Linked DNA regions of Homo sapiens: all the other regions are linked to region 1. The links are contacts of gene promoters, found by promoter capture Hi-C in blood cells and fetal thymus (Javierre and others, 2016). All regions are on one chromosome and are shown on one strand. Each heading gives the region's core, a stretch centred on a gene start or on the middle of the fragment in contact. The rest is flanking DNA. Distances are from core to core; before and after follow the strand shown.

What was found. The method cuts DNA at HindIII sites, captures the fragments that hold promoters and counts their contacts. A CHiCAGO score of 5 or more calls a contact.
Region 2: a contact is called between a fragment that was not itself captured here and the fragment with the promoter of KMO in region 1, in 4 of 17 cell types (M2 macrophages, monocytes, M1 macrophages and 1 more). The highest score is 9.0, in M2 macrophages.
Region 3: a fragment that was not itself captured here is called in contact with the fragment with the promoter of KMO in region 1 in 1 of 17 cell types (M0 macrophages); the score reaches 6.5 in M0 macrophages.

Annotation. Positions count from the first base shown.
Region 1 is chr1:241,530,261-241,534,735 of GRCh38, reverse strand. It overlaps KMO (kynurenine 3-monooxygenase), which reads right to left and starts at 2,358. Exons shown (of 15, transcript NM_003679.5): 1 at 2,238-2,358. The coding sequence starts at 2,291. RefSeq lists an enhancer at 2,626-2,775. The HindIII fragment of the contact is 7,761 bases long and covers 1-4,475 here.
Region 2 is chr1:241,820,023-241,824,497 of GRCh38, reverse strand. No RefSeq gene overlaps it. Among named protein-coding and RNA genes, the nearest start is that of EXO1, 26 kb to the left of the region's middle. The HindIII fragment of the contact is 4,489 bases long and covers 1-4,362 here.
Region 3 is chr1:241,796,309-241,800,783 of GRCh38, reverse strand. It overlaps WDR64 (WD repeat domain 64), which reads right to left. Exons shown (of 28, transcript NM_001367482.1): 27 at 4,414-4,475. Among named protein-coding and RNA genes, the nearest start is that of EXO1, 50 kb to the left of the region's middle. The HindIII fragment of the contact is 3,331 bases long and covers 537-3,867 here.

The DNA of each region.
Region 1 (4,475 bases), core at 1,109-3,608:
AGGGAAAAGGAGTTAAAGCTGGGAGACTAATTTGGAGCTTGTTGCAGGAATAAGGATGGCGGATGATAATGGCTTGGGCCAGGATGGTTGTAATGGCTAGAATTTAAATGTATTTTGGATATAGAGCCTCAAGGCTTACTGATGGAGTGAAAGAAGAATAAGCGTTTGCACAAAATGACAATAGGAATCAAACATGATGCGTAAGCATGGACTTGAACAATAGGATGGATAGAATTCTTTTGCAGAGGAATTTTAGTTGCTCCCTAATACGCAAGTAGTAATTTTTGTCTCCTATTTTCCAGCATATGTATGACGTGGTTACATGATGACAATCTCATGTTATTCAGGGAGAAATCCATGGATGACACCCACATTTTTATGCCCCCCAAAACCATATATACAATCACATATTTGTTATCTCTCCCTTGGATTTCTAAGAGACAATTTTTAAAATGAGACATCACTGCTGCCACCTTAGTCCAAGTCTTGAGCTAACGTAACAGCCTCCTAACTGGTCTATCTTGTCATCTTAAAATGTTCCTAGTCATTCTCCACATAATGGTCCAAGGGACCTTTTAAAATCACAACTTAATTTCCTGCCTAAAATCCTCCAATAGTTTCCCATTGTAATTTGAACAAAATCTGATCTTCTTGCCTGGACCTCTAAGATCCTACAAGATCTGGTCTGTCAGCTTTTCTGGCCTCATCAGCTACTCTTCTCTGGCCTCAGGCAGTTCCTGCCTTTCTTTCTGCTCCTTGAACTTGGGCAGCTCATTATTGCCTGAGGGTTTCTCTTCCTGCTGTTCCCTCTGCCTGAAATGCTCTTTCTCAAGATCTTCACGTAGTTAGTTCTATCTGATCATTCAGGTCTCTGGTCACATGTCCCTTCAGCAGAGCAGCTGTCCCTGACCACATTCTAAACAGGTACTCCCAAAGATACTCTCTACAGCACTACCCTGTTTTCGTTTCTTTCATAGTGCTTCTCTTTAACTGAAATTGTCTTATTTGTTTTCTTCTTCCTTGTCTTTTTCTTCTCTGGAATTCTCACCCTCGCATCCCTACTACCTAAAACAATATTGGTACATAGTAATCAGATTTTGTTGAACACATGAATTCTCATTTTGTGCAACATTTTGATAGGACAGATTGGACACAAGCCTAGTATGAAGCAGTGACGACACATGTCCCAACCAGTGACCAACACATCATGTGATAGCATTTCTAAATGAAAATTTAGAATCAGAAATATTAAAAGAACTGTTCTAGCACTTTGGGGAAAAGACACTAAGGAAGGCAGAACAAAAGACAGCATATACTGTATAAATACATGTGTGGCATAAAATATACCATCTATATTCAGCCTAGAACAGTGTTACGCCCTCAATAAATTTTTTGTTGAGTGGATATATGAATAATTAATGAAAAGTCTCCAAATGATTTGACCAAAGGTGATAGGGAAATGATTTAACCTTGACTAACTGGGATGTTTGTATTCTGAAACAGAAATTCTGCTGAGATGGGAAAAAGCAAAGTTGAATCGGAGCAGACCCATGTTAAACAGAACTACCTTTGGCACCATAACTATGAAAGCAGAGAGTGACCTCTCCTTCCGTCTTGTTAGGTATGGGGGAAGCCCCAGCACCTTTACGTCACGTGCTCAGTGAGAGGTGAACACCTCACTCCACTGTCTTAGGTGCTCCACTGGAAGAGTCAAGTAAGTCAGGCGACCACATAAATCTTATTCCCAATTACTCATATAACTAGTGAACATTCAACATGATACTTTGACGTTAGCTTCATGTTTCTTGACCCTTTTATTCTCATTAGACAGCATTAACTGAGTTATTAAACAAAGCGGAACAAATGTTTTTATTAAAATGAATATTGAGACTAATTCCTGTTCCTAAAAACATAGCCAATTTGGGGATAAAATCAAATTCAATTTGCATTATTTTTGCTTTTTAACAAATCCTAAACCAAAATGATGAGGGAAAACAGAAACCTTTGTATTTAATGGCTATAAAATACCTTTCCTGAAAAAGAACAGATTAAAACTCATACTATATTAAATCTATGAAAATAAAAATATTAAAAAAATAAACAAAATAGCTGTATTTAAATATCAGAGTTTTCACAAGAAAATTAACAATTTGCAGAAGTGACGAATAATAATCATTACGAGTAATAATAGTTAATATAATACCACCAACAATAGTAATCCATCTGAAAATTCTTACCAAGCCACCACCAATGACAGCTACTTTTTTCCTTTGAATGACAGATGAGTCCATAACTGCTGAAGTATTTTTCACAATTATTGTTGCTTCTGTCACTGAGTGACACTGATTTCTGTGTCTCCTACACACTGATTTCTCTGAGTTTTTATACTGCCCCAAGCCTAGTGCATTCATGAGCCAGCGGCAATGTTTAGTCAGGGCTAATTTCCCTTGACAGTATTAACCCATTAGTTGGCCAAAGTACAATCAGCTCAGCTCTAAGAAAAAATAAATCCATTACAATAACCAAATTTTTTAAAAAATCCATCCAATTGGAGACACTCTATTTTTTCTATCTTCTGTGTAAGACACAGAAATTTTTAAGCAGTCTTGTGGCTTTTCTTCTTCTTTTTCTACAGCATATATTCTTAGTTTCGTTTTCATTCATGATTAACCATGAATGGAGCCCTTCTCATCTGAAGTCCAAAAACATCTTATACCTCCCTTAGAGAGTAAGATGACATGGTTTCATAATTCATCTGTGGATCATTTTTGTGGTTAAGACCAATCAAAAATTTCATCTAAAGGGTCCTCATGGATTGTTTTTAACAGGCTCTACCAGGGAAAATTCTCTGCAAGGTCTTAATATTCTCCCGATCAACATTTTGAATTGTGTAACTGACCATACTTCCCCTTTTTTTTTTCAGCCCAGATGCTAGAAAATTTAGAATCTAATTTTAGAATCGAAAATTTAGAGTCTAATTACCACTAGGGGAGATGACTGACACAACGCTTCTGTAAACTCATTCCCGACTTCATATTATCTATTCACTTTTTTGTCTTTTTCACTCCGTTTTAAATGTTATACTTTTGTGCATGATTTGCGAATGGCAATTGTTTTCTGGAACATGATGTGGTGTAATGTAAAATAAGAACATAAATGAAGTTGTTTCTTCACTTCCTGTTAAGCACATAAAGAATTCAGAACGTTTTTTTCCCTGGTTAGGAACTAGAGTTAAATGGCATTCAATAGTGACCCCTTGTGGATAAGCATGATTAGGTATTTTATTTATTTTGAATAGGTAATACATTAACATGGCATGAAATTAAAGACACAAAAGAGTACACGGTGAATAGTAATCCTGCTAACCTTGACCCTTGGCCACCTATTCCTCCTGCCCAAAGACAACAACTGTTTTGGTGTGTGGGTTACCGTATTCTTCTACACGTTGATTATGTCTTTCTTGTTCTTCCTCTCTCTCCTTTTCTCTCTCTCTTTCTCTCACTCTCTCATTCCCTTCCTTCCTTTCTTTTTAAACATACATTTAAAAACTTTTTCCACATCATATTTCTCACTTTACAACATATAGCTTGAGAATTCTTCAATATCAATATGTAGAGAATATGTATCAATTCCTCAGTATCAATATGTATCATTGTTAAAAAATCTTTTAAAAATTATGAACTATAACACAAATGAACAGTATAATAAGTTACTGTAAAGCAAGTATCCATGTAACTACCATTTAGGTGCAGAGAGAGAATATTGCCAGAATCCCAGAAGTCTAACGTGCCCCCTGTTAATCACCCCTCCTTCGTAGAGGTAACTGCCATACCAACTTTCTTTGCTTTTATGTATAATTGTACCATGATAGATGCATCCCTAAAATAGTTTAGTGTTGACTTTTTTGAACTTTCCTATAAATGAACTTATACTGTTTATTTTTTTACAACTTGCTTCTTTTTCTCAATATTATATCTCTTAAGATCCATTTGTGTTGTTGCATGTTTTTCCAGTTCATTCATTTTTATCGTCATTTATTATTTGTCCATTGTGCTGTTGATGGACATTTGGGGTGTTTCCAAATTTTTAATATCATGAATAATGGTGTTGCCATAAACACTCTTGTGTATACAATGTCATGTACATATGTATGAGTATCTCTAGGTTTCATATGCTGTTTATGCTTTTTTGTTTGTTTTTTGTTTTTTGGGTTTTTTTGAGATGGAGTCTCACTCTGTCACCCAGGCTGGAGTGCAATGGTGCAATCTCGGCTCACTGCAACCTCTGCCTCCCAGGTTCAACTGATTCTCCTGCCTCAGCCTCCCGAGTAGCTGGGATTACAGGTGCCTGCTACCACGCCTAGCTAATTTTTGTATTTTTTCAGTAGAGATGGGGTTTCACCATGTTGACTAGGCTGGTCTTGAACTCGGCCTCAAGTGGTCCACCCGCCTCAGCCTCCCAAAGTGCTGGAATTA
Region 2 (4,475 bases), core at 869-3,368, 290 kb before region 1:
TTTCTCCCGCGCTGGGCCATCACTTCTCTTTCACTGGCTTCTTGACGTGTCCTCTGATGGCGTGCTTCCGGGCAGACTCACTCAGTCCAAAACTTCATGTCGAAGTCATAGTTTGAGCCAGGAAAAAGGCAGGAAGTATCCTTTTCTATCTGTGTTAAATGCTGCCATCCTTTCATTTAGCCTTTGCTCTCAGTTTTCTACAGTACTTTTAGGTCAGCAGCTCTTCCTCTTGACTTGCTTTTCAGAATCCATGCAGCCTCCTTTACCCAGCAACTGTAAGGAGGAACTGAGGGAGCATGACTCCCTGGGGCTAGGGTGGGAGACAATTTGAGTGACACTGGGTGTGTAGCATTAAAAAATGTCTCTCACAGATCCGCTGGCCTCTCCATTCCTGGAATGCCCTAGACCCTCTTTCACCTGGGTGAGTGGCTTCCTGATACACTATACAGTGTTAAGGGGAGGAAGGACTGTTATTTCCCAACTGTCCTGGAAGGGCTGTTTTGCCTTTAGAACCAGCCATTAGCCCCAAGACATCCAATCCTTGTCTTATTTTTGAGGCTAGGCCAATAAGCAAACAAAAGGGCCACCAGGCCTATCCCCACTTACCGCATCACATTACAGGCCCTGCCTTGCTAAGGGTCTTCAGCCGTACTGTGGACTTTGATGATCCAGAAGTGGCTACAGTGAAGATTGAGTGAACTGAATGCAAATTTAGGAGGCCTAAGATGTAGCTCCATTTTTGCCTTTCCCATTCAGCTAGTAATGGTTCTTTTCATTTAAACTCTGATAGAGAGGTAGTGATTCTTTCCTAGGAAGGTATCAGCATACACATAAGAGTAAATTTTATTTTTATTTTTATTTTTATTTATTATTTATTTTGAGACAAAGTCTCTGTTACTCAGGTTGGAATGTAGTGGCATGATCATGGCTCACTGCAGCCTCCATCTCCCAGGCTCAAGTGATCCTCTCATCTCAGCCTCCCAAGTAGCTGACACTATAGGCACACCACCACGCCTGCCTAATTGATTTACTTTTATTTTTTGTAGAGATAGATTCTCACTTTGTTGCCCAGACTGCTCTCGAACTCCTCAGCTCAAGCGATCCTCTTGCCTTGGCCTCCCAAAGTTCTGGGATTACAGGCATGAGCTACCACACCTGGCCCAGAATAAATTTTCTATGTGTGACTATTTTCCTTCCCCCTCTCAATTCTGTGTTTAGATTCTCTTCGAATAAACTTTTCATCTTATTCTATTATGGATTACAGTTAGGTGTGCCTTTGAACTGAATCAGTATTCATGGGAGAAATGATTTTCTCCCCAGGCAGAGTGCTATGTGGGTTTGTTTCTGTTTTTCAAAACACATCTGAAGCTGTTCCTACCTTATGACTTAGAGTCTCAGAATTCTAATTGGTGATGCAAAAAGAATATTATCAGTTGCCCAACCTGTTTTTAATTTTCTCTTTGCTATTGCAAGAGTGGAAGAAATGTGAGAAGAATGAATATGGGCAAAAAATTGACAGTTGCTGGGATGTGAGGTTTGTTTTTTTCTCTCTTTCTGGTTAGGCTAGTTGTGTTCACTTGGCAAAGGGCAGCATAGAATGGAGAAGAAGGATGGGGAAAATGTTAGAATATATTTTGTATATAACATTTGCAAGGTAAGAACAAAGTCGTGTGAATGCCTATGTGCAAAGAAGGTGAAAGATACAAATGCAGATATGTATGTATATATTTATATTTATTTAGACACATAAATATACATTAAACAAATATTTATACATATATTGCTAAGCATTTCTACATGCACTATTTAATCTGATCTTCATTGAAAACCCTAAGATGCAGGTATTAGTATAATTTTCATATTGTAGGTGAGTCAACTTGTGCACAGAGAACTTAAATAACTTTCCAAAAACCAGGTATGGTCAGAGCCAGAATTTATTTATTTTTTTTTTTTTGAGACAGAGTCTCGAAAAGGCTGGAGTGCAGTGGCATGATCTTGGCTCACTGCAACCTCTGCCTCCCGGGTTCAAGCAATTCTCCTGCCTCAGCCTCCTGAATAGTTGGGACTACAGGTGTGCGCCACCATACCTGTCTAATTTTTGTATCTTTTAGTAGAGACGGGGTTTCACCATATTGGCTGGGCTGGTCTCAAACTCCTGACCATGTGACCCGCCTGCCTCAGCCTCCCAAAGTGCTGGGATTACAGGCATGACCCACTGCACCCGGCCCGGAGCCAGAATTGTAATCTGGAGAGGCTAATTCTAGACCTTGTGTTCTTTACCACAAAGAAAGTCTGATTTAGCTCTGTGGATGGTGAGGATTGAGAGGTCAGGGAATTTCCTTGAGGATTCAGCACCACTTGAAGTAAGTGTGGGTGGCTAGTATGGTCTTCAGATGAGAGTAGATCCACTTGGTCAGTCCCCTCTAGAAAAACCTATGGAAGAACCAGAGACAGTCCTGGAAACTCAGATCTAAAACAAATTCTGGTTCTCACTTGAATTGGCCTGGCCATTTGAACAGAAGAGAGAGTCTATCAATTGGACTGTTTTGTGGACACCATAAAATCGTCACATGGCACTGGTAAGTATGAAGCATGTATTTTTTCTATTGGTCTGATTTCTGATCCAGTTTTACAAATAACCACTGGCAGTATTCCTTACCATTCTGCTCTTCACAAGAACATAAAGTAGTAAAATTAATAAACCCCTTTATTTTAACTCTTGCTTCAGCATATAATTTTCCCCATATGCGGCCAGCTATCTATAAGATGCGCCTAATATCAAGATCCTTTATTTCACATTGTAAAAATCTTTCGTTTTTGCCTTCTTCCAAATGTGTATCTCTTTTTATCTAGGAATAATTAAGTCAGGATGGCAGAACAATAATATTTACAGGCAGTGAACAGAAATGCAGAAGTGGAATTTACTAGCCAAACACTGCATCTGAGTCATTATGCCACAAATAAATTATGTGCATGCATGAGCAATACATAAACTTATTCGTTCAATTTGTTCTGACATCATAAGACATTTTAAGGAAATGTTAGAGACTTTTAGCTCATTTCTATTCATTGAAAAATTGTATTTAGCCACCTGTGCCTCTGTGCTTTCTTCCAGTCTATGGCCTTTTTTTGTAGAAAAAAAAAATTCTAAAAATAGATATGGCATTCCTTTTAAAATCAAATGCCTTCTTCAAAGAAGTTGCCGTAATAGAAATAGTAAGTAGTACAGATGGTATAGCTGTAAATTAAAGTTTATTCTGACTTAGATACCACATGCAATCATCTATTATTTAATAATAGAAAAATGGGGACTGGGACTGGTTATATAAACATGAATCCTTTTAGTTGATCCCTTTCATCTCTACCTATCTGTATTTCTAAATCTTGCAGACCCTGTATGCGTTGTTTTTGTCTTCCTGTTTTTAATGTCATGTGAATTTCCTATAAAAATTGCAGAATTGTTTTCATTCAGCTTAAGACAAATATTTTTTTCTTTCTGAATCCTATACAGATGATGCCTGTAACTGGCAAGAAGAGGCATATATTTGTTACAGGTGGAACGTTTCCCATGCCCATGTGGTACTTGTACTGACTTCCATCATCGCACCTCTAACATGTTGTTGCCCATATCTGATTCTATCTTTGTTTCCTTTCTCAGGCAATAAGTACCTGAAGGGCAGAGACCATCTTTTTTGTTTTTTCCTGTGTATTTCTAGTTTTTCATGCAATATTTCTCGAGAAAATTAATGTCCCATCCCATTCCTTACCTAGTTATTTATACATTGAGAAAAAAACTGATGTCTCTAAGAAAAATATAAATGTAAGCAACTCATAAATAGGTAAGTTAACATTTTGGGGCATCCACAGTATATTACTACTGATAGTTAAAGGAGGTATAAAGAAAACACTAGACATGGTCCCTTTCTTTATGGTACTTCTAGACTATGAAAAGAGAGGGCTCAAAAGCACATGTGTACACAATGTACGAGTATCTATTTACCAAAATAAGTACAGTCATCCTGTACACAAATACAAGCCATACAAATGCAGTCTATTTCACGATTAAGTAGGCAATATTTGTATCATGTGTTATTCCTGAGATATTTTGAATCCCAGCTAGATTTTCTACTGCTACCTAGCAAACTTCTAGCCATTTTCCCCCAACTATCCAGCAGTTATATGTTTAGTAGATGAAACATATCTTCAGTGTTAACCTATAACATAATTCAGAAGGTGTATCCACTATAAAATATAATAAATATTTTCAGTGTCAAATAAAAATAATGTATGGGATATCAGATTCTCTCTACCCTACTTACTAAGATAGCTTGGCTAATTGCAATCTGACCTGAATTCAAAGCTTTTCCTTCCTTACCATTGCTCCCAAGAGCTTATAAATTATTCTGCTCTGTTCTTTCTGTGTTTTCTTTTTCAGCTCTTTCCTCAACACACACACACACACACACACACACACA
Region 3 (4,475 bases), core at 953-3,452, 270 kb before region 1:
GCACAATTAATAATTAATTAATATTGCAGATTAATAACATCAGAGTCGGTTGGCTCACAGGAAAATAAAATCAAGTGATTATCAGTCACACAAATGAGGAATAAAAGTTTGGTTTTTGTTGTGTTCTGCTTTGTTTTGAGACAGGGTCTTGCTCTGTCACCCAGGCTGGAGTGCAGTGGCACCATCACAGCCCACTGCAGCCTCAACCTCCTGGGCTCAAGCAATCCTCCCATCTTAGCCTCCCGAGTAACTGGGACCACAGGCATGTGTCACCACGTCCAGCTAATAAAAGTTTGTTTTGCATTGATTATTTTTGGAAGAAATAGGTATAAAAATTTAAACTAATTTGGTTTAAAAATTCATATCAGTTATGTTCAACCAATATTCACAATACATGTCAATTTGATTTTATGGTCTATTATGGGGATAAAGAAAGAAAGAAGAAAAAGGGAAGAGGAGATGTAGAGAGTTATAAGGAAAGGGAGAAGAGTGAGCTCCTAAGGTCAAGATTCAACCACTTACGGATCCTTTAAGCTTGGACATTAAGAGGTCACATGAGTACTCCTCTTTCTCCCACAGACAAGGTAGGAGGCTTAGCTCCCTGGATCAACCTGCTAAACCCCAGCAGAGGGAACTTTCCAAGCTGCACAGATCTTTCTTTTATTTTCTCTTTTTCTTTTTCCACTTGTTTTAAAGGCTAATTCACTATTTCATTCAGCAAATGTTTCTGCAGTGTCTCTTATGTTCCAGACATTGGCACTGCAGCAGAGAGTAAGTTAGGCAAAGTTTCTGCCTTCATGGATCTTACATTCTAGTGGGATAAAGGCAATAAAAATGACTTTTTAGGGGAAAAATTAAGCTATATGAAAAATAATTTTGGAAAAAATGGATTTTTATATGATACAATGTCATGTAGTGATCAGAGCTATGAAAAAAATTACATCAGTGAGGAGACTGAAAAAGATGGGAAGGGTGGGGCTCTCTAGTGTTCATTAATTGTTAATTCTCATAAGGTTATTCTGACCAGGAGAGACCTAGCAGCTCACCCATCACTGAATTATACCGCATTGCATTTAAGTGTCCAGGCTTTGAAGTTAAGTGACTGGATTTATCCCAGCTCTATGACTTGCTTTTTTGGAATCTCAGAGGAATTACTTATCCTCTGTGTTTCAGTTTTCTTAACTGTAACAGGAGGATGATCATTGCAACATATCTCAAAGTGTTGTTGCAAAGATGAAATGAAAGAGTACATAGCAAATGCACAATATCATACTGGGCAACATTGATTTGAAAATAAAGATTTGCTGTTGTCATTAGAAATATTACTGAGTTACAGTTTATATATTCTTTTCACCTAAAATAAAATTGTGATAATTTTTCTGTCATTAAATACTTTTTTTTTTTTTTGAGACAGAGTTTCATTCTGTCATCCAGGCTGAGATGCTTTGGCACGATCTTGGCTCACTGCAACGTCCACTTTCCAGGCTCAAGCGATCCTCCCACCTCTCCCAAGCAGCTGGGACTACAGGTGTGCACCACCACACCCGGCTAATTTTTGTATTTTTTTTTTTTTTTTTTTTTGGAGAGACAAAGTCTCACTGTGTTTCCCAGACTGGTCTCAAACTCCTGGGTTCAATCAGTTCAACTGCCTCAGCCTCCCAAAGTGCTGGGATTACAGGCATGAGCCACTGAGCCTGGCCTGTCATTAAATACTTTGGAAAAACTATGGAGTATGTTTTCACATATACCATCTTTCACTTAGACATTTTTGCATGATTGGACATGTTTCCACAATTTTGAAAATGGGTTACACTTTCCAAAGTTCACTTTCTTCCCTTCTCTTCCTACATTTAAACTGAAAAGGAAATACAAACTCATGTTCTGATTTATCTTTTGTTGTACCATGGTTAATATTTTATAATGTGTTGTTTAATTCTAAAGAGACGTATAAATGATTTAAAGAAGTTCATATTCAGAATTAGCATTTCTATATTTAAAAATAGTAAGTCAAAATAGACTAAGATATCTGTTATTGAACCTTTTACTCAAAGGACTTTCTTCCAACTGTACTGTAAGTTCCTTAATCTATAAATGGATTCCTGGTGCCCAGAACAGTGCAGGGGACATGATGAATATTTTAAGGTATTCCATAAATATTTGTTTCATAAAAGTGAAATTTCTCCCCCTGAATTTCTGAGGTCGTTTTATGCCCACCATTTTGGAAGTATTTTTATGAAACGAGGCATTTGGTGTCTAACTACTGATTTTATGTGATCCACTGTTTTTCCATTTAGGCTCTTTGGAGTTCTAAAATTGTAGACAGTTAACATAGTGGTGCTTTAATCTATCCCAGTTTCCAGATTTTGTCATCTTACTAAGTGCACAATTGGTCTTAATTGTATATTGGAAACCAATTTTGACCTCCTGGCCACACTTAACTATTTCTTTTAGTAAACCAGAAGAGAGTTTTATGTGAGGATTTTTCAATTTAAGCAAATTAAGGCACCTATTTTCTATAAACAAATGAAGACATCTATTCTTTTTGTCTTTCTGGTGTGATCGACGATCTATCAGAGTGATTAAGAGAAAATAAAGGATTTGTCAGAACATCAGGTTATTTAGACATCTTAAAAATGTCTTTGTGTTTGGATAAATAATTTATCATTCTTTATGATCTCTAATAAAATTAATTATAGTAGAGTCAAATTCTGGTTATTGGAGTGTAGATTAGTCTTTATGTAGATTAACTGTGAATAATTTTTCATTCCATATTGTCTTCCCCCTGGTACCTAAGACATATTTGGCCATCTTCTTTCTGTCACTTAGTATTTACTTAAAGAATGCAAAGTATATTTAACATCAGATGAGATAAAATTTAAATAAGAGTGCAAATAGACATAAAATGCATGAATTATAAAACCTAATGCACAGAGTCGTGCAGAAAAAAATACAAATACTTTATTACCTTTAGTTTTGGATTTTTTTTTTCATTTCCAGGTCTCTAGACAAGGTTTTGGATTATTTATACAACTGTGTTTCATCAGTTACATAAAACAATTAAAAGTAAATGATATTTTTTAACAGAAAACTCTTCTAATGCCAAAAATTCTTAAATAATTGTCAGAGTTGATGATGAACAGAAATTATTCATATTCTCATTAAGTGCACAAGCTAACATTATTATGGCAAAGTTTTCAATATTAATTAAAGCAGCTTTGAATATTGTTGTTGTTGTCAGTATTTGTTATGTATTACTGAGTTAGGCACAATCAATAAACGCCAACTCCTTTTTAATTTTAATCTGACTTCATGGAAAGGAGACTTATAAAAAATTACCATGTGCTATATCTTCCTCCTAAATGTTTGATCTATTTTAATGACTGGATAAATGGCCACAGGTTAAGTTAGGCCCCTGAGAGCTTCTAGAACTAGTAGGAGAGTGATAGGTTATATAGTGATAGCTGTGTAGGCTATCATGGTTTCATTGAATGAGCTTGGAGTCAGAGTAGGTATCAGCTTATCACTTCATTTGTATGTGATCTTTGGTAAGCCACTTGACCTTACTTTAGACTCCATTTTTTCCCCAGCTCTAAGAGAGTCTAATATTTTCTTTGTTCTTATTGTGAAAATCAAATGAATCATTTATAAAATCACTGCAAACTCTAAAGCATTGCATGTTAGTTATTTTTATTAATACTGTAGAAAAATTCTTGCAGCTAAGACAGAAACTGACCTCATGGCTTTACTCTGTAGGTACAACCAAATTAAGACACAAGGATGGTTATACAGCCCTCCTCTATGTCGTGTCAAATCTCCTAGTTTCTAAAACAGCTCAGTGAATTTCAGTCATAAAGGTCTAGATAAGCTTCATTAGCTCAGGCTTATTGATCTTATTTGATTTTTCTCTTTCTCTGTCCAGCAAATTCATGATTTTCATCTCACTGAGCTAAAACACACACATCTGGAATATTCATAAAAAATATGAACTGAGGCCGGGCACAGTGGCTTATGCCTGTAATCCTAACACTTTGGGAGGCCGAGGTGGGTGGATCACCTGAGGTCAGGAGTTCGAGACCAGCCTGGCCAACAAGGCGAAACCCCATCTCTACTAAAAAAATACAAAATTAGCTGGACACAGTGGCGCATGCCTGTAATCCCAGCTACTTAGGAGGCTGAGGCAGAAGAATCATTTGAACCTGGTAGGCGGAGGTTGCAGTGAGCTGAGATCGTGCCATTGCACTCCAGCCTGGGCAACAAGAGGGAAACTCCGCCTCAAGAAAAAAAAAAAAAAGTATGAACTGAAATGATTTTAGGTTCAGAATGTTTCTGAAAGCAGAGACATATTTTTAAAAAAACAAACAGAAATAGGATACACTGAAATTGGAGTTAACGGTGGAATTAGTACTAACTTACTTTTTCACGTTGAACATGACCTCCCTTCTTCTTTCCTGTAATGCCATCTGAAGAGTCCTTTT